Regions from separate parts of the Homo sapiens genome. Here region 1 is linked to region 2. The links are contacts of gene promoters, found by promoter capture Hi-C in human tissues and cell types (Jung and others, 2019). All regions are on one chromosome and are shown on one strand. Each heading gives the region's core, a stretch centred on a gene start or on the middle of the fragment in contact. The rest is flanking DNA. Distances are from core to core; before and after follow the strand shown. Region 1 has its middle 37 kb from the start of SLC13A1. Region 2 holds the start of SLC13A1 (solute carrier family 13 member 1).

What was found. Contacts are between HindIII fragments. The study calls those that stand out against the background at their distance.
Region 1: a fragment that was not itself captured here is called in contact with the fragment with the promoter of SLC13A1 in region 2 in 1 of the 25 tissues and cell types used here (bladder).

What each region holds. Positions count from the first base shown.
Region 1 is chr7:123,233,927-123,239,721 of GRCh38, reverse strand. No RefSeq gene overlaps it. Among named protein-coding and RNA genes, the nearest start is that of SLC13A1, 37 kb to the right of the region's middle. The HindIII fragment of the contact is 3,808 bases long and covers 1,496-5,303 here.
Region 2 is chr7:123,198,716-123,204,296 of GRCh38, reverse strand. It overlaps SLC13A1 (solute carrier family 13 member 1), which reads left to right and starts at 4,328. Exons shown (of 15, transcript NM_022444.4): 1 at 4,328-4,449. The coding sequence starts at 4,351. The HindIII fragment of the contact is 8,203 bases long and covers 1-5,581 here.

The DNA of each region.
Region 1 (5,795 bases), core at 2,150-4,649, 36 kb before region 2:
CTACCATCATTTGATCTAAGAAACATTTAATGAATATCTGTTACAGATGAGGTCTTTTACTCAACAACTCAGGAGTTGAAATTTGAGGTTTGGGATCTCTCCTATTGTTAAATTATGTGAAATCAGTGTGTTTGGTTCTCAATCAGTAATCAATGATGACAAAAGCATGTAGGTGTGTTTTTTATGATCTTTATAACCTATCTTCTTCCTAAGTAGAGGAGAGGTATATGAAGGCAATGAAAACTCAGGTTGAAAGGATAACCAGTAAGCCAAGACCCTGAGAAATCATTCTAAGAAAAGGCGAGGGAGTTAGGAATAAAGAAAACAGATGGATAGTTGCTTGTACAAGCTTTGCCCAGCCACTGATAGAAGATTATATTTAGAAATGCAGTGCTCATATGCACAGAGATTTCTTGACCACTCTGCCTTCTTTATTGGCATTTTTCATAAGAGTACCATTGATTTTAATACTAGTGCCAATATATAGTATATTTCCATGTAAGGCTGAATTCCTGTAAGGAATTTGAAATGATAGAACAAGTGTCTTCAATGCTAGTAACAATAGCATATACAGTATTATTTGGAAGAAAACATGTATCTAATAAAAGACTTGTGTTGAGAATATATAAAGAATACTTACAACTCAATAATGAAAATAACAGGCAAAGTAGAAAGACAAACATCCTGATTTTTAAAAATAGACCAAAGATTTAAACAGAGACTTCAAAGAATTTTTATAAATTACTCATAAGCACATGAAAATATAATTAACATCATTATTCTATAGGGAAATGCAAACTAAAACCATATCAAAATACCACTATATACCCATGAGAATGATTAAAATTTTTTAAACTGACAGTATCAAGTGTTGACAAGAATGTAAAAAGCTGGAGCTCATACTCTACTTGTAGAAATGCAAAACGGTTCAGCCACATTAGGAGACGGTGTGATTGTTTTTCATTAGGTACTTTCCAGATGACTCAGTAATCCCACTTTTAAGTATTTACTCAAAATAAATGAAAACATATCCACAAGAGATGTGTATGCAAATGTTCATAATAGTTTTACTCAGAATAACCAAAAACTGGGAACAATCTAAATGTTCATTAGATGATGTCTGGATAAACATGTTGCGTCTGTAAATGTAATACTATTCAGTAATAAAAAGGAAAGAACTACTGTTGCATGCAACAGTGTGAATGAATCTCAGAGCCATAGTGCTATGTATAAGAAGCCCAGCACAAAAGGCTATTGTGTGATTCCATTTATTATGAAATTCTAGAAAAGGCAAAATTATAGGGACAAAAATCAGGACAGTAGTTATCAGGAGTTGGAGGATACAGAGAGAGGAATGACTGCAAAGGGGCATAAGAAAACTTCAGGGTGACAGATGTTCTATCTTGATTTGGTGCTGGTTATATGTCCGTACATATTTCACAAAGTTTATCAAAATCTATAGTTAAAAAGGGTGAATTTAATTGGATTCAAATTATACTTCAATAAAACTAATTGTTTTTAAAAAAGAACAAATAAAAGAAGGATGGTCTTGGTATAAGAATAGATAAATTCTTCAATGAAACAAAATATACATCCAGATGTATAAGAAAATTCAGTATATGAATGATTAAGGTAGTATTTCAAGTAATTGAAGATAAAATGGAGTATTTAACAAATGATGTTGGATTAACTACTAGTGAATGAAAACAATATCTAAAGTAAAAGCCCTGCTTACTCCTTATATCAAAGTATATTTTTTATTTGTCATATATTTAAACATTTAAAAAGTAGAATGAAATAAAATTAAAATTTCCTTTCAGGGTATACACATGTGTAACAGAACGTCCCCATAATCCTCAATATTTAAAATAGCATATAGCCAATGACCAGGAATAAAAAATCATCACTCATGCTTGCTGGACTCACACTGGCTGGGTGTCAGAGTCAAGTGCAAACTCCTCAGCCTGGCCTCCTGGCCCTCCACTACCTGTCCCCTTTTGGAAAAGTTATTAATTTTCCAAACTTCTGGCTTACTTTGTCCTGTAATGTACTACACAATTCCTGGGAAAAAAAAAAACAAAAACAAAAGAAAAAGAAGATGTCCCTAAAGAATGCTTTGTGTTTCCTGACTCTCTTCCCGATTATGCCATACTTTCCCCCAGAGTCTGTCCACTTCTCCTTCCTAAAGCCTACTCATTCTTCATAGCTTTACCTATTGTTTTTGCTAAAATTCTTCCAAAGTAACCTAATCCTCAATCTTATCCTCTGAATTCCAAAAGCATCAACTATCTGTGAATTTTAGCACTGTCTTTTTTAGTGTATATATAATGTATATTTGATTTTAACATATATGTATACATAGATGCATATACACATGCACATATTATAATATGATATATAATACCCATATGTAATTATAATACTTTGTATAAGTTATTATATAAAGTTATAAACAATTCTTATAATTATTATTATTGCCATTGGTGTTTATATTCTTCCTACTCAATTGCAGTTGCTTTGACAGACATGACTGATAACCTTAAACCTGCATTGTTTTTGTGTCCTTAGATAGAAAGCCTCAGTGTGTGTTTGAGCAGAGGGAATGTCAGAATGTGTAGGCTATGGCTTGAAGAAACCAAGCTTTAGGGGATAACTTGCAAAAAATATGGAAATGCCTGAAGTGCTTTGTTTATTGCAAACAGGACAAATAGCAGAAATAGCAAGTCAGGCAAACAAGAAGTTAGATTATGGTCCTCAAACCCAGAAGAAAAGAAATATCCAAAGTTAGGTGCTGGGAAAATAGTATCTGTGCAAGGTGCTTTCCTATAACAAACAATGTCCTATTTAAAAACTATAAAGAAGTGTACTGAAACCCAAACCTCTTGTAGTCTGGTGTTGAAAGGGAAGGGAAGGAACAGAAGAAGAAAGAAGGAGGGAACATAGGGAGAGGTGGGGGAGGAAGGAAGGAAATCGTAGACCTCGGCCCAGTCTTTCTGGAAATTTGTACCTTACAGAGCCACTGGGAAAATGAGTAGTACTTATGACTAAGATGTCTGAGCCTGAGGGTTTGATTCCTGGAAATCACAGTCTTAAGAGGAGAATTTCTGAAACCTGTGGGCAACAAATAATCGAAACATTGCTGAAAATAATGTAAAACTTTGTTATTACCCTTCTGTTTCCGCTGACTATAAAAAAAGGATCAATATGAAGAGTTATGGTTTTTAACTTTTAATGTCCTAATTTTAAGTTTAAAAATGAAGTGGTAGAATCTACACATTGCAAGAAACTTTTGCTTATAAAAATAATAGTTGTATTGTGAGATTCTCTGAAATATAGATAGAAAGTCCATCAATGTTTCGAAGGTAAATTTTTCTCTTTGAGCATGTTTAATGAGAACAGAATTATGTCTAGCTTATACATCACTGTATTCCTGTACCCAGCCTAGTTCCTTGTACTTACTATATATACTCAAGATGTATTTGCTGACCATGAATGAATGAGCCAAAATTGACTCAGGATTACCATGTGGGCCTAATTTACTTGAGCAGTCAACCTACAGAGCAAAGTCTCTGGTAGGTTACCTTCACAGGAGGTGATGATCCTATTGGGATATGAAGAAAGTGAGAACTATTGATCCAGCGAGGTCCATGCTGCTGATAGTTTCAACCTCAAAGGCTGTCCTTGTTTGGACTCAAGGGTCTGTTAGGTAAGTCCAGCTCTCCAGTGTGAGAGCTTTATCCACTCAGCATAACCTCTAAGAAGACTTGCACTTCCCCTGGTCATTGTGGTCTCCCTGTAAATAAAGGTTGCTGTCTCCTTGAAAGCCTCTGATTTTCTTCAACAAGCTCTTTCACCTGGCAAGTTATAATATTTATGGAGAATATATTACATGCCAGATTGTCTAAAGTGTCCAACACTATGGGGTAGATTCTTTTTTAATTATATTTTATGCTAGAAGTGTAAAACCCTTGAATCTGGATTAAAGGATAGAGCAGATCTGGGACTTACATAAATGCATTTCTGAACATGATTGAAATATATAGTAAGCAGTTATTTTATTAGTACAAAAATTATACAGCCATTTTTATAAGTCATATGACATTCAGCTTAATATAAAAGACCAGGTGTTATTCTAAGCACTTTAACTTATTTGGTTCTCCCAATAAGCCTATAAGTTAAGAACTAATATCTTCATTTTTGACAATAAGAGTGAGTAACCTACCTAGGGCCACATAGGTCATAAGTGGAGGAATTAGAATGTAAACTAAAGAAGCTTGAAGTAAGGGCCTTCACTCACCACCACCATATACCATAACAATTCTGTGTACCTGTGGTACCCTTCACCTTTGCACCACAAGTCATACAGCTGTGAATACCTGCTCCATGCAAGAGCCAAACTTGGAACCAATAACAATAGAAAACAGAGAAGGGATCCCACAGGGCAAAGCAAGCAGGCTCCAGGGTCCAGGAAGTGAGCAGAAAGTGAGACAGAGTGGGCAGAAGGTGTGGATTCTCTTCCTTGTCATTTGCAGGTGAGAGGATAGGCAAAGGCAATTGCTGAGGACAAAGGCTAGATTGCCAGGAGGTGATAAATAAATAGAAACTGAGAAAGAAGAGAGCAAAATTACTCTTAAGAAAACTAGAGATAAAAGAGAGAATTAGAATGTTAATTTGAAAGTGTACTGAATAAAGTGGATTTGAAACTCTCAAGATTTAGGGAATAACAGGGGTGAATTAAAGATGTATGTAGCCAAACAGATTGAAAATGGTAGAAAGAGGGAATAATGCCTAGTACGAAGACAAGTGGTGAATGTGGTTGCTTTAGAAAAGAGAACATATGTGTCATCTGCCAACATTAAAGCGGGGAAGTGAAGAGGTGAGAATATCAAACTATTTTTGAAGTGAAGAATAAGACATCTTTATCTTCTCAATATAACCTTACTACTGACTACCTGGAGCTATGCTTTATGGATACAGGGTTTTACTATATATAGCTCTACCAAGAAAAATAGGCAACTCGTCTTCAAAGACACTATACAATGAAATAAAAACACCAAAAATAGACCGTTTTTTCCTCATGTTGAGGGATTGTAACATTAAATTTTCCTCTTGCTTCTAAAACATTACTCGCCCCTTGCATTCTTTCCTTCAGCATATATAGGGCTTTTTACCCAAATAAATGATCAACCGAATCTCTTGCTTCCTCCTCTTTCCTTCTCTTTATAGCTAACCATGTCACTGAAACCATTGGCTCATTAGTGACCCTTTAACCCACTGCAGTCTGACTTCCACCTCCATGTCCTCAGGAAAATACTCCCATGAGGTCACTCACAACCTCCATCCAAGGACACATGCAAGGAATATTCCTGTTGTAACTCACCCTGTCCTTGATCTCATCTTCTCTTGATGGTTCTTCTCCCATTTCTCTGATGGACCTGTGTCATTCTTGTATAATTTCCTATTCCATCTGCTCAATAAAAGCCAGTGTTCCCTAGGGTCCTCTTGTAGGTCATAATCTGCAACTTTCTATATATGTTAGGAACATAATCCAAAAGAAACAAACTTGAAGAAGACACAAAATAAGTTGTCTAGAAATAAGTGGTGAAGAAGAAGAAGTGACAATGTTGGGATGATGAAAATTCTGGGAACTTTAAATTAAATAAGGTAAATTAAAAATGATTAGAAGCCAAAGATAAAACTGTCACATAAAGACATAGGAAGTTAGGAGGATTTTTGGCACTTCTGTGTGACTGAACTGGAGATTATGGACAAGGCTGAAGAGTCTAGGTCTGTTT
Region 2 (5,581 bases), core at 3,079-5,578:
GTTCAATCTTCATCTATTCAGTTAGTCATTTACTTCATTACACTGGAAGAATAATTATTGAAACTGTGGTTAATAATAAATGACGTTAATTTAAGTTTTTAGGGACTTGTATATAAATCTACAGTCTCTAGGGTAGATTATTCTACCTTAGCTAATTATTTTATCCTTTATCTTAGGAAATGAAAGTAAAAATTGATATAGTTAATTGACATCAGCCTGGAAATTTTACTATATACACAATCTACATGCTTTTCTTTCATCAAGAAGACTCAACATCTTAAGGAAGGGAGAGGTGAGCAGAAAAAGAAATAAAACTCTAAAAAGTGCTAATGTAAATGACTACAGGATGCTACTGAGGAAAAAAGATCATCTTAGTTTTAACAGTATCTAAAATGTTTGGGGATTCAGCTCACATATGGCACTCAAAGAGTATACCCTTCACAGCGCAGTGCTTGTAAGTCATGCAATTTATGTAGGTAACCAGAGTATACAATTAAGGGTACACTATGAGTGAGTTTTTGAATTAAGGGCTAGTCACAGCTTAAGAACAAATGAATGTTGGGAGAAAATCTGGCTTACATTTTTTGACCAATAATCCCAACAATAGCAATTGAATAAACCTGGCATGCACTTTGAACTCTAAAAACCCTAAGAGTGAAAATAGAAATACATAATTGAAGCAAATGCACTGTCTTTTTGTATACAAATGCACCTGGCTGTTTTTGCCAGCAAAGTAAAAGTGTATACTGAGTATATACACTTTTTCATCTAAGTGTATATATGTATGAGTACATTTGCAATGGGGCAAATATTTTCCATTGAAAAGCCATATCTCATTGCAAACCTATATATTCTATTGACAAACTGCTTGAGTAAACCATACTATATAAACAAGGAAGCTAATTGGTTTCCATTTATCTATACTCATAGGTAAGTTTAGAGAAAGTATTCTTTGAGTATTTACTTGTACCCAACACTTTACTAGGGACATAAGTGATGCAAAGGAAGTAGTCTGTACTTCCTTGTACTCAAAGAATTAACAATCTTACAGAAGATGTAAGATTTACATGCATTATTAAAATAGTAAATAACATTGGTCTACTCACAGGCCACAGTGTGTCTTACAGATATTATCTATGATTTTCAAACTTTACTGTGTATTAAAAATTACGCAGGGTGCCAAGAAAACATGAAGGTTTCAAAGTCACATTTAGATCCAAAAGGGCAGGGAATCTGCATTTTTGTTAAGCATCTGATATTATTTGAATACAGTTGGCTCAAGGACCACCCTGGGTGTGTGCATGGAAAGTCAAGGATTGGGGATTTGTGCAAGGACTGGGATTGTTAGGATGGTTTTGAGATGAATCTACAAGGTCAAACTTCAACTATGGTTAGCATTTAAAACAGAGATGGAAACCATATTCTTGGAAGAAGGAAAGGCTTGAAGAACACAAATTTGGGAGTTAACATTATAAACATAAGCATAAGAAAGAGACAACCAGAAGGTAGGCCTGAGAGAAGCATGTGAGACAACTGGATAAAAACTAGTTTCCACTCCCCTCAGTTGGTTAGACAACTCAAGCATCTTGGGCAATCTAACTTCTTTACTACCAATAAGAAACCCTTCATTTCCTCTGTGCTTGAACCTGAGCTTCACATAATTTATGACCATCCAGAAGTCTCAATGGCAAACGCCAGAACTACAGTCCCTAAACTAACCAAACCAGGTATCTCCATACAAATTCTAGACTTGAAGTTAGTGCTTAGTGCCAAATGAATATTCTTGATGGTAGACCTCAAACGTAGTACAAGGAGCATTGCCTTAGGTGCCAGAAAGAACTGGATTCAAATGAATTGTTTTGCCATTTAGTACCTGGGATATTTTACTTTACCTCTTTGAATCTTAGTTTTCAAATCTATAAAATATAAATAATAATAACAATACATACATATAACTTGTATCAAGTTTTGAAGATTAAATGAGGTACTAAATGTAAACTCTCTGGGACATAGGATATAACTATAACAATGAATGAATGAACAATATCTGTGATTTTTTTGGTAAACATGTTTTTTAATTAAGGGCTAGGCGAAGCTTAAGAACAAATGAATGAACATAGTCATGAACTGATTCATGATTATGTAATGGTGTGATTCAGTTTAGATAAAACATAACACAATTATGATGTAGTAAGGTTTATGATTTTCTGTACAAAGAAGAGGTGAAATTTGACAACTGTGACTAATTTGTCCTAGGCATGGAGCTAGTTAAAGCGTGATGTGATTTGAAGGGTACCTTAAGATATGTATCCAAGGGGCCCCGAAGTCTCCCTTAGAGTTTCATTCCCCAGTGACTCTTGCAGAGACATTCAGCTCACATCAGTCATTCATGTTTAGTGCAAATTATTTTATTAGATTTTTTTCTCTCTATGACAGTGAAGAGAAAACCACCGAGGAATAAGAGGTTGGCTGAAGGTAAGGAGAAGGTGAGGCTGTTTTGTAATAATGAACACCCACAGCAGATTCAGCTAGCTAGAGCCCAGGCCATAAGAATAGGGTCCTGGAGCCTTCCTCTGGTGAGAAATGAGGACCTAAAGAGAGAAAATAGGGCACAGAAAGGAGGGACTAACAAATGTCAAGTGCTTTTCCCTTAGCCTCTGTCTGGTTCCAGTTGCCTACACATAGGCTCTCATTTCCTTTAAATGTCACACAAATGCCTTTTCGTTTTTTGGTGTCATCTCACAAAGTAAAATCCTCTAAGATGAAAAAGTGAGGCTCAAATCATCTCACCAGGTAGCTGAAGGAAATCTGAGAGCAAAAATGGTTTCTTCAAAAAGTAGTAGTTTAAAAAAAAGCATGCAATGAACTAGAGAACTGTACAGGGTGTTAATGGAAAAAAATAAGTACTACAACTGGTTTGAGTAAATCAGTTCATAAATTAATTTTAACACTATATACTATTGTTACCTATTTATTATCACTTACCATTTTATTACAATATCATTTGTAATTATCCTTTCATCTAAGAAATTTAAGATATAATAAGACTTTCTGGTTTGGAAACTTTTTTTCTGTTTACTATTCTGATTTTCCTGAATAACTGTCCATAATAGATGTTTAGGAATTTAAATTTTTTACAGGAAAAAAATGCTTTCTCATTTACATTAATATGGTGAGTACTGGTGAGAGAATTGTTTCTCTTGATGGAAAGAGAATGCAGAGTTATATTAGTATGAAGTTAGAAATAAGACCTAAATGCTAACTATAGATTACATAAGAGTAAGGTTATCTATGTCAAGAGATATTGACTATAAATTCTAGTAGGGCTGGGAATGTGTTTCATTTATATCTAAAGACAAGTAGTAGTTGCTAACTTGAGGTTTACTGGATCATCAATTTACAACACAACGTGAAAAAAACCAGGGTCCTTATCCCTGAAGATTTTCAAAATACATCCTCCATATCACTGTTGGAACAGTCTCCAACTTCCCATGTGCTCATGTGCACAAACCATACACACACACACATCACACACCACTTGAATGTCCCTAATCACTCATCTTTATGCAGATTCCCTGATAATTATGTAGTCTGTATCAGCACAACAGTATCAAATCAAGCCTTCAAAGGTCTTAAAATAGAGGGTTTATATAACACTTCATGGTTATTTTGGTTTTCTATCAAAAGAGACAATAGGGTCCAAGAAATACACAAAACTTTGCTTCTAACCAACAGGGACATTTGCTATAAATTTTGTAGAAGACCCTTGCAATACATTGTCCAAGAAGTCCGTTAAAAATCCATCTCTAAACAAAAAAGTTTCCCTTTCACTGTCATACACTGAAATTCCAACTATTAGTTGCTATTTCAATTTACACACTGAAAACATACTTCCTTAGAAAGGGCCATGGAGGCTGCCTGTGGAGACTCACTCATGGCACCATGACAATGTGGTAACTACTCCAGTTAGGGAGTCTGGAAGTCAGAGGACATCAAAAGGGTTGGAAGTGCCTCATTGTGAACAAACAACCAGCTTCATGGTTTTGCCTTCTCCTAGGCTTGTCCAGTCTGTATTTCAGTGAATGTGATCAAAGAAAGCAGGGAAAGAACAGTTTTTCCTTGAAAACCCAGAGGAGCAAATGGTCTTTGATTTCTCATGAAAAGTCTTGGGCCTATCTCTTCATGTTAATTGTGATAGTAAAACAATAAAAAATGAGATTTAATTTTAACTTGTGTTGGTCGGTCTAGGGCAGTGAGTGAAGGTGACAGGCTGGAAAAATATTAATCCAAGTTGGTTATTTAACATCTGCTTTATTTGGAGGACACTATTGAAGCCACCTGCTCAGGACAATGAAATTCTTCAGTTACATTCTGGTTTATCGCCGATTTCTCTTCGTGGTTTTCACTGTGTTGGTTTTACTACCTCTGCCCATCGTCCTCCACACCAAGGTGAGTGAACCTGGAGAACAGACTGGTGGATTTCCTGACTTATTTAATTGTCCTTTATTAAAACTGTTTGCTGTTTAACTGCCTGGCTCAGAGCTGAATGAATGTTGACCCTTCATACCTAAAGTCAGGATGGTTGTACATGATGTTTTGGCCATTTTCTCCCTTTTTAATAATTAACATTGGTTGATTCTTAGTATGATTAAACATAATTAAATAGAATATTCAATCAGAATTGTTCTCTGCCTATCAACTAGATGAGAGGAAGAACAAAAGAAGCACAACCTTTGAGATTTTGCAGTTCAAGTTGTCATTCTCCAGGGAGCATGCATGGCTAGTGCAATGCCTTCCCCTGAGAATAGGCAGCAAAGCAATTGCTGGGGACAGAGGTGGAAGAACAAGGGAAATCCTAGGTCCAGCACAGACTAATTTACTTCTCAGCTCTGTGGCTTTGTCACAGAACTTCCTGGAAATTTAGTTCCCTTGTAGGAAAAGAAGACATTGAAAGCTTAGAGTAATTTCCCTTGGTCAATCAGAAAATCTAATAAAGCATTTACCATGTTCTGATAATTCCAGGTTTTGTTTCATTGTGGTGTACTTGTAAGCATTTTTGTTTGCTTTTTAAGAGTAGTCAGGGCATTAAGTCCAGAACAATAAGCTCAAGCATGTTTAATTTCTTGGTAAAATGATTTGAATCAGCAAACATTTAATGAGCACCTTCTCTGTGCCAGGCACAAACGTCACTTGGTAGTAAGAGGACAGGCTTTGGAGCCAGATTCTCTGCTTCAGGTCCCAGATTTACCACTTACAAACTGTGTCACCTGGGCATGCTACTTAATGTCTCTGTGCTTCTGTTTTCTCATATGAAAGATGTGTATAGTAGCAGGCTTGTTGTGAGAATGAAATGAAGAAACACTCTTCAAACACTTATTTGGAGCAGTGCCTGGCACACAGTAAGTGTGCAGTGCCAGTCTCCTTGGGTGTGTTGACTCCACAGGTGGGGCAATTCCCAGCACTCCATTATGCACAGTCCCTCCTCTTAATGGGCAAGAACCCTGCTGATGCTCTCCTCTAACAAGTACTAATCGAGGTTACACCAGTCTGGGTTATAATAGAATCATATTAACTATAATAT